Regions from separate parts of the Homo sapiens genome. Here region 1 is linked to region 2. Evidence: promoter capture Hi-C in human tissues and cell types (Jung and others, 2019). All regions are on one chromosome and are shown on one strand. The core of a region is centred on a gene start or on the middle of the fragment in contact, and the rest is flanking DNA. Distances in the headings are between cores, read along the strand shown.

Region 1 (4,074 bases), core at 175-2,674, 190 kb after region 2:
TGTAACTAACCTGCACATGTACCACCTATATCTAAAATAAAAGTTGAAAAAAAACCACAGCTATGCACAGAGTTGAAAAAAAATTTTGTGTCAAAATTAACTTGTACTAACTTATAACACTGAACAGAATCTAGTTTGAGGTACTAAGAAAGATAAGACATGAGTTTGAAAAGAGCTCCTATCAGAACAGCATGACTTCTTCGAAAATTGAAGAAAGAACAAACACCAGACTTATTGTGAAGCTTGGGTGGAAGAAAGAATGGTAAAATCATTGATCCTTTATGAAAAGTTTATGGGGATAATACCCCAAAGAAATCAGCAGTTTATAAATGGATAACTCATTTTAAAAAGGGATGAGATGATGTTGAAGATGAAGCTCACAATGTCAGACCATCCACATAAAGTTTCCAGGAAAAAATTAATCTTGTTTGTGCCCTAATTGAAGAGGATTGATGATTAACAGCAGAAAAAATAGCCAACACAATAGACATCTCAACTGGTGTGGCTTACACAGTTCTGACTGAAAAAGTTGAGCAAACTTTCCACATGATGGGTAGAGAACTGTTCCACCCAGACCAGCTGCAGACAAGAGCAGAGCTTTCAATGGAACTTTTAAATAAGTGGGATCAATTTCCTACAGCACTGGTTCCAAGAATTGTAACAAGAGATGAAACATGGCTTTACCAGCACAATCCTGAAGCTAAAGCACAACCAGAGCAATGACTATCAAACGTTAGAGGTGGTCCAGTCAAAGCCAGAGCAGATCAATCAAGAGCAAAGGTCATGACAACAGTTTTTTGAGATGCTCAAGGCATTTTGCTTGTTGACCTTCTGGAGGACCAACGAATGATAACTTCTGCATATTATGAGAGTGTTTTGGGAAAGTGATCCCAAGCTTCAGCAGAAAAACCCCCAGGAAAGCTTCACTGGAGTCTTTCTCTACCGCGACAATACTCCTGCTCCTTCCTCTCATCAAACAAAGGAAATTTTGCAAGAATTTTGATGGAAAATCATAAGGTATCCACCTTACAGTTTTTATTTGATGCTTTCTTACTTATTTTGTTTCCTAATCTTAAAAAAAACTTTAAAGGGAACCAATTTTTCTTCAGTTTATAATGTAAAAAGTCTTCATTGCCATGGCTAAATTCTCAGGACCTTCAGTTCTTCAGGGATGGACTAAATGGCTGATATCGCTTATAAAAGTGTCTTAAACTTGATGGAACTTATGTTGAGAAATAAAGCTTATAGTTTTAATTTTTATCTTCTAATTCTATTATTCTATAACCTTTTTGAAGTTCCTTGTATTTGGAGTACTAGAAGTGCTTCATGATGCCTGTAGCATTCGTTGCATGTGTATGTGGATGAGGGCGCATACACACACACACACACGAGCTGAAGGTGAATCCATACATGTATATGTGCATGAGGGTACACACACACACACACACACACACACACACACGAGCTGAAAGTGCATCCATGCATGTATATGTGCATGAGAGTGCACACACACACACACAAGCTGAAAGTGCATCCATGCATGTATATGTGCATGAGGGTGTACACACACTGACACACAAACACAAACACAAGCTGAAAATGCTTGGAGTTGTATGTCCTCCAGGAAGTCATGGGCTTTCATAGCCTTATGTGATGAGGGCTTTGAAAGTCGAGCTCCCTTACCTTCAGCTGAGACAAACTTTATACCCCAGAGCTGCCCTGAGAATCTGGCAAAGCCTGGGACTTGGCTTGTCCTCTTCCCCTTTCCTGTCCTGCTTCCTCATTCTTTTCCTGGTTTCTCTGGGAGCAGTTTCTTAATAAATCACTAGCACAGAAATCTCCCTCTCATGTTTACTTTTGGGGAATCTGATTAAGAGAGCTGGGTATATTGGAGCTTACCCTGAGTCAATGAACAGTAGCACAAGACAGTACATCTGAATGAGTCTGAACTACAATTTCAGGTTTTCTTCTTTGTGGTTTTATTTGGAGTATCACAGAAAATTTGTGAAATGTGCCAGACATAGTTGTGCTCCCAACTCACAGATGGGAAACAAAGGGCCAAATGACTTGCTCCAGCTTGTGGAGCAATCACGGCCCGGGATGCCTGTTCTTCAATGTTTCATCTTGTGCTCGCTCCGCTTCACTGTTCAGCTTCTTCAAGTTAGAGCTTTTGTTCTCTCCCAGCGCCCCCATGAGGCACTGAAAGAAAACTAGGTCCCTTTTAGCTTCTCGACCCTGTACTGTCCAAAATAACAGCCCCTAACCCCATGTGGTTATTTAAATGTAAATAAAGTTAAAAACTCAGTTCCTCAGTCAGACTAGCCACATTTCAAGTGATGAATACTCACAACCTTGCAGAAAGTTCTTTGGATAGTGCTGTCTTAGACCCTTTACTCTTCAGAAGTTTCAAGTATTTTTCTCTTTGCGTGTATCTGCTAACTTGATATGTTTTTCTTTTTTTAAAACAATCTTGGGACCAACATCAGGGTGATTGCTACCTTGAATTCACCATTACAGGCATCTGAATCTGCATAAACACATGCTAGATGGGCTTTGGGTAAAAGAGAAGGGGAGTGGCCACAAATACACATGTAATTAGGAAAGAAAATTTCATAAGGACTCCATTTTTCTCTCCCTGAAATACTAGTGAAATAATTCCTGCTTTTGCCTACCACACAGATGTAGAATTGAGGTGAAATTATAGAAATAAATTAGAGCACCGAGAATGAATTAGAACAATTCTAAAACTTATCTTTGAGCTTATTTATGTAGGCATAATGTAAGTATATGGGATCATTAGATTTTAATTAAATGTTATATGTTAATTAACAGAAGACTGCTATTTTCTACAAAATGAAGAATACATTTTTTAAACAGTAATAAAAAGATTTAGAAAAAAATGACAAACTTATGATTTTAATCTTTGAATATGTATTATCAACGAAGACAGTCAATTTTTTTGTGCTCTGGAGTAGAGTGAAAAAAACAACAGCATCAAACAATGGTAAAGAAGTGAAATGATAGGGATCATAAAATTCGGCAGGATGGTGACGCTTGCTGTGAGAATTTGAAGGCTGCCATATACCACCGGAGGCTGAGGAGGCTTTGTGAGGTGATGGGAAGAATTAGAGAAGCTGCAAGTGGTAGGCATTTTTGGAAATGGAATTAAATTTAGAAACCAGTGTTTTTACAATTTAAGGCTAGAATGAAAATAAATTGTTTATGCAAAATTTAAATAGAAGTTCTTTCTTTCCTCTTTATAAGTACTTTTAAAGCAAGAGACACTCGAATTGATAGCAATAGAACAGAAAGAAAACATTACATATTTTGGAAAAAAATTAAAGATTTGTTTTCAGAAAGCCCACATTACCTGCCAAAATTTCCAATATGTAATTTCAACTATAGAGATAGAGATTTATCTTTTGGGCAAATTACTTTTTTCTAAGGCTTGGCAAATATTGCACAATAAGTCACAAAATGCTAAGATGAATGAAGGTAATTGAAATCACATTTCTCAGTATAATCACATACTCAGTTGAGTATAATGCTGGATAATGAGGACACACACACAAAATATGTATATGATGAAAAAAATCTTCATGTTTGTTAACATTTTAGTTTCAATGAGATGGACTCACTTGTTTATTTACTTTTAAATTTGATTTAATGAGGTTTTAAAAAGGATTGATTTAATGAGATTACTCAACTATTCCATCTAAGTAAATTTGAGACCTAAAAGTGCTAATGACACCAGATGTCACTCTCAATTTTAAAAAGTAAGATCAAGACTTCCGTAGGTAAAAGAAAAATAGTTACTGGGGAATTATTTTATATTATTTAAAAGAAAGGGCGCTATTAAGAGAAAGCGTAGCTATGTCTACTGAAAGGAATAAGAGAACATGAGAAAGCTAAATTGTTCTGCATAAAAAGGCCAAGGGGGCTGGGGGGATGGGGAAAGAGGAGAGGCATTACCTCTGATGATTCAGGAGGTAGGAAAGGTGCCTCTAAGCCATATAGAGAAAGGATGAAGAGGTAGGTGGCAGCTAGAGAGGAGAATTGGAGATGGGAGGTGTT
Region 2 (4,202 bases), core at 1,053-3,552:
AGAGGTCAAGTCAGAGCTCCATTCCAGGATCTGCTGACTTCTTCATCAGCCTTGAGTTTCAAACTAAGGCCTTTCTGACCGTGCCAATTCTGGGGCCTAGGACTCTGAATGTTGATAAGGCCACCCCAGTCATCTCCTAATCTACATCATGCTGCCTTCCTCAGATAAATATGAGGACTGGAGCTCCAATTCTTAAAATCAAAAGAGATGGATTTGAGGATAGAGAAAGAAAAAGGGTAAACAGATGCTTCCAAAGGCCCAAGCAACTAAACCACTTGGTGAGGAGTGGACAGAGAGGAGAGAAGACCTAGATGTCTTGTTATAATTAAGAATTAGCTCATTCAAAACAACTGAGTAAAGAGCACAGAGACAATATCTAAGACCTGAATGGTGCTTTTAAAGTTTTCTTAGCTCTTTTCATTTTCATTATCTCATCTGAGTTTACAACAACCCTGCAATGGAGGGAGGTAAGGCCACGATTATCTCCGTTTGACAGAAGAGAAAACTTAAGTTCAGAGTGACTAATCATTTGTCCATCAGCACTGTCATCAGCTGTAAAGCTGAAACTTGACCTCAAGTCTGTCTGACTCTAGAACTGTGTAGTGTATCCACATTATGTGATTCGCACATCTAGAAATCGGCCCCAAAGCAGACTACCCTCAAGGAAAAAGCAAAGAGAAAAACAGGCAGCAGAATGGTGAGCCCCTAAATCCTGGCACTTGAGCAGTGTGAGGGTGTCCCTTTAAGAACGTAACACACAAACCCAACAGCCAAGGTGTTCAGCCAAAAAAGAAAAAAAGAGAGGCATATTTCTAGCCTGCATAATCATTTCTGGACCGATTCCCACTAGCAGCCTCTGAGACGAACAGCAGCTCACAGCCTCGGCTGAAGCTCCTCCACCCCCAGGGTGGCTCTGACTAGGGCGCAGCTCTGACTAGTGTGCAGGCAAAACCCCAAAACTCAAAACAAGAAGTGAAAAAAGTGGAGCCAGGAAAAATTCGTCGGCATCCTCCACAGCCTTACAATCCGCACAATGCCAGTTCCAGGGTCCTGGGGTCGCCCGGAAGGCAATCTTAGGAGAGGGTGGAATGAGATGGAAGTTCCTGCGGACCTACCGATCCTATTCTCTCCCACCCAGTCCCTAGGGAAGCGTAATAGGAAGGGGAGAAGGTTCGTTATGAAATCCTGGGGCCAGAACCAAGGGCAGATACACCCCGGGGACTTTCTCCTAAAGAACAAGATGTCTTTCCAAATTCTCCACCTGCAGGTCCTGTCCTCTGTGAAGATGAACGGGGTGGGGTGGTGAGGTGGCGGGGTGTTGTAAACCTGAGGAAAGGTTGGAGGGAAAATCAAGCCACCCACCTACTCCAGCCACGTTGCCCGGCGGTGTTGGTGAGGCTCGATGCCGGCGTGCACGGCAAGCGCGAATTCGGAACCTGGCGCCCTTGACCAAGCCTGAGATCGGAAAGGGGGCATCGCCCAGGGCCAGCGCCCTGGGGGCAGGGTGCCGTGCCCGCCAGAAAAGCTCGCCTCAGTTTTGGCAGTAATGATTTTCCTAGAAGATGCCAGAGTTCGCGAAGATCGGAGTGATTCGCGGATTTCTGCGCTCAAGCTAGAGGCGCAGCGACCCCGAGCTCCCCCACACTGGGAGCCTCGGGGCAGCATTCTCGGGGCCCATGCCATCGCGGGGACGGTGCGGAAAAAAAGGCTCCATCCTCAACTTTCTCGGAGGAAATCGCTCCGTTCTGCGGCTTGCCCAATACTGCCCGCACAACGGGTCCCAGGGTTGGAGAGAACCAGGGACACGAGTCCCTCTCTGCGCGCACAAAGCAGCTGCGCCGGGGCGCGCGGCCCCCTCTCCCGCCACCCGCCAACTTGGAAGAATCTCTCTGGGAGCCTGCCTACTCCCCTGGCCTCACAGCCACCCGCCTCGGACGGAGCGCCAGGCGCCCCAACAGCCGTGGCGGCTGCAACCGCATCTCCCGGGCTTGGCCTCCGCCCTGACCGCCTGGCTCCCCTCGCCCCGGTCCTACCGTGCAGCCTGGCTCGCGCCCCTGCCGTGCCAGTGCGCGGCACGCGTCCCAGAGCACGAGGCTCCTCCCCGGGGGGCTGCCCCGCGCGGGGCTCCGGGCTCCGGACAAGGCTTAGCCGGCCCGGGTGCTGGCTCGCCGCCGCTCGCGGCTCCCGCGCCGGCTCCTGCTGCCGCGCGCGAAAAGGGAGGGGTTGGGGGGAAACTCCCGGCAACTCCAACTCCGGGCGCTGGAGCTCCAGCTGCAGCCGCGCGCCCGCCCGCCGCCGAGTGCGAGCGCCTGCGAAGCAAACCTGCCCGCGCGGCCGCCTCTGAGCATGCTCAGTGCCGCCGTGGGCGAGCCCGAGCGCCCTGGCCCGGGGCAAAGAGCAGCGGCTAGGGGCTGGGGGCTGGGGGCCGGGACCCGCGACCCGCCCCAGGCCTCGGAGCGCGGAGGTGGCAGAGGAAGGGAAAGGCCAATGTAGGGGCGGGGGCCCTGAGCCAAAGACCCGGGAGAAACCGATCTGGGTGCAAGAGCCGGTGCGACTTTCACGGCTTGTGGGAAGTTTGTGGGCTAGAAAGGTGGGCTGCTTCTGTGAGCTTCTCTGTGAGACTATATTCGAAAGGACAACCAGGAAACATTTTTTTTTTTCTCTAGGAAAAAACGAATAGACCCAGCCGATGGGTTTTTATCCTGTGCGCTCCTTCCTTTATTCTTACGATAGCAAACTCAAAGATCTAATGGGGCCTGACAGGCACTGTAACTGGGGGAAGGCGAACTGGAGAGAGCTCCGAAGGCAGGGCCGCTTATCTGCTCTCAGGGTCCCTTGCTATCGGGCAAGAATTAGACCTAGTGTTGCTAGATTTTCTGATTTTTCCAGAAATGACGGAGTATATTCATGTACAATATCCTGATTTGTAAAATCTTGATAACAAATTCAATTTTCTCAAAACACCCTGGACTAAACAAAACATATCTGCGTCCCCTCCCTGCTGAACCCCCCAGACAGTGATTTGAGCATTGTGATTCTGCACTCTTTTAGCGAAGTGGTGCTGAGTGCTCACTGTGGTTTGGGAAAGTGCTGGAAAGGATCCAAGATGATTCAGAATATCTTCGAAGTACTACTAGTTACTAGGGGAAATGGGTTTTCCTGACAGTAGAGCGCTACACTTAAATGCTGGAGCGTTCAAGAAGAAAGACGTTACTAATGTAGAAAGCGGTTGTAAGAACTAACTTTTGGGAAACATCATTAGTAAAAGTATCTGTGTGGGGAGTCACTGCAGGGCCGATAACAGTGCCCCGGAAGGCACTTTTGAGCCTGAAGCAATAGGAAAAACCCCTAAACTTACCCTGTCTTTATTTAAAATTTTGTTATTTTTCATCATGCATTTTTGATATTAATTTTGATTTTTTTAAATATTCCATTAAAATATTAACCTTGATTACTGAATTCTTTGGTGAACCTTTAAGTGCTGTGACTCACCTCACCCTAGCCTGGCCCTGTTGGGGTGTTAGATGGTGGTACACAGACCTGCTTGTTTGGAGTGCAAGGGGTAAGCATTAGCATAGTGAAATAGGAAAGAGGGTTTGAGCTGTGGATGGGGGCTCAGGCAGAAGTCCTGACTGTCAGTCTGTGGCTCCTGCACTTAGTTTGTAGACTACGTGGAGATAGCAGAGATGCTGGGGGAGGAGACAATCCGAACTGAATTCTGTGAAGATGGACAGGGCAGCAGACCCAGGAAGATGGTTTGGAGGGGAAGAATGGGAGAAACGGGGATACCTAGGATATCATAAAACTGATACCCTAGGTATCCCCATTTGGTAGCTACAGTTTTATGAAAATCAGAGAAAATTGCCTGAAAAAGTAAGTTTCTTTTGCTCTGCCTATCTCTGTAGAGACATGTCATGGGGCTACCTTAGTGCCAATGAGTAGTGTGCCGGGGTCCTGGTCTTAACCTCAGCCATTTCCCTACCAGGCTTCCATGGGCAAGTGGCTCAACCTCTAAGCTTCACTTTCCTCATCTGTGGAAGGGAAAACAATTCTCATGGCGTTTTTGTGAGAATCCAAAGAAATGTATGTCTAAGGGCTTTGAAAATGTTGAGAGTTCTTACCTACAAGTCATCTATGTAAAATTTGAATTGAAATAAGGGCCTTTTTGCTTGACAAAAGCTCTAAGTAGCAAGCTTCTTTAA

The links. The method cuts DNA at HindIII sites, captures the fragments that hold promoters and counts their contacts. A contact is called where the count stands out against the background at its distance.
Region 1: a contact is called between a fragment that was not itself captured here and the fragment with the promoter of STXBP6 in region 2, in 5 of the 25 tissues and cell types used here (bladder, heart right ventricle, hippocampus and 2 more).

What each region holds. Positions count from the first base shown.
Region 1 is chr14:25,235,896-25,239,969 of GRCh38, forward strand. No RefSeq gene overlaps it. Among named protein-coding and RNA genes, the nearest start is that of LINC02286, 82 kb to the left of the region's middle. The HindIII fragment of the contact is 5,841 bases long and covers 1-4,074 here.
Region 2 is chr14:25,047,845-25,052,046 of GRCh38, forward strand. STXBP6 (syntaxin binding protein 6) reads right to left here and starts at 2,303. Exons shown (of 6, transcript NM_001394410.1): 1 at 2,034-2,303. LOC124903295 (a long non-coding RNA gene) reads left to right here and starts at 2,500. Exons shown (of 2, transcript XR_007064091.1): 1 at 2,500-2,590. The HindIII fragment of the contact is 10,437 bases long and covers 1-4,202 here.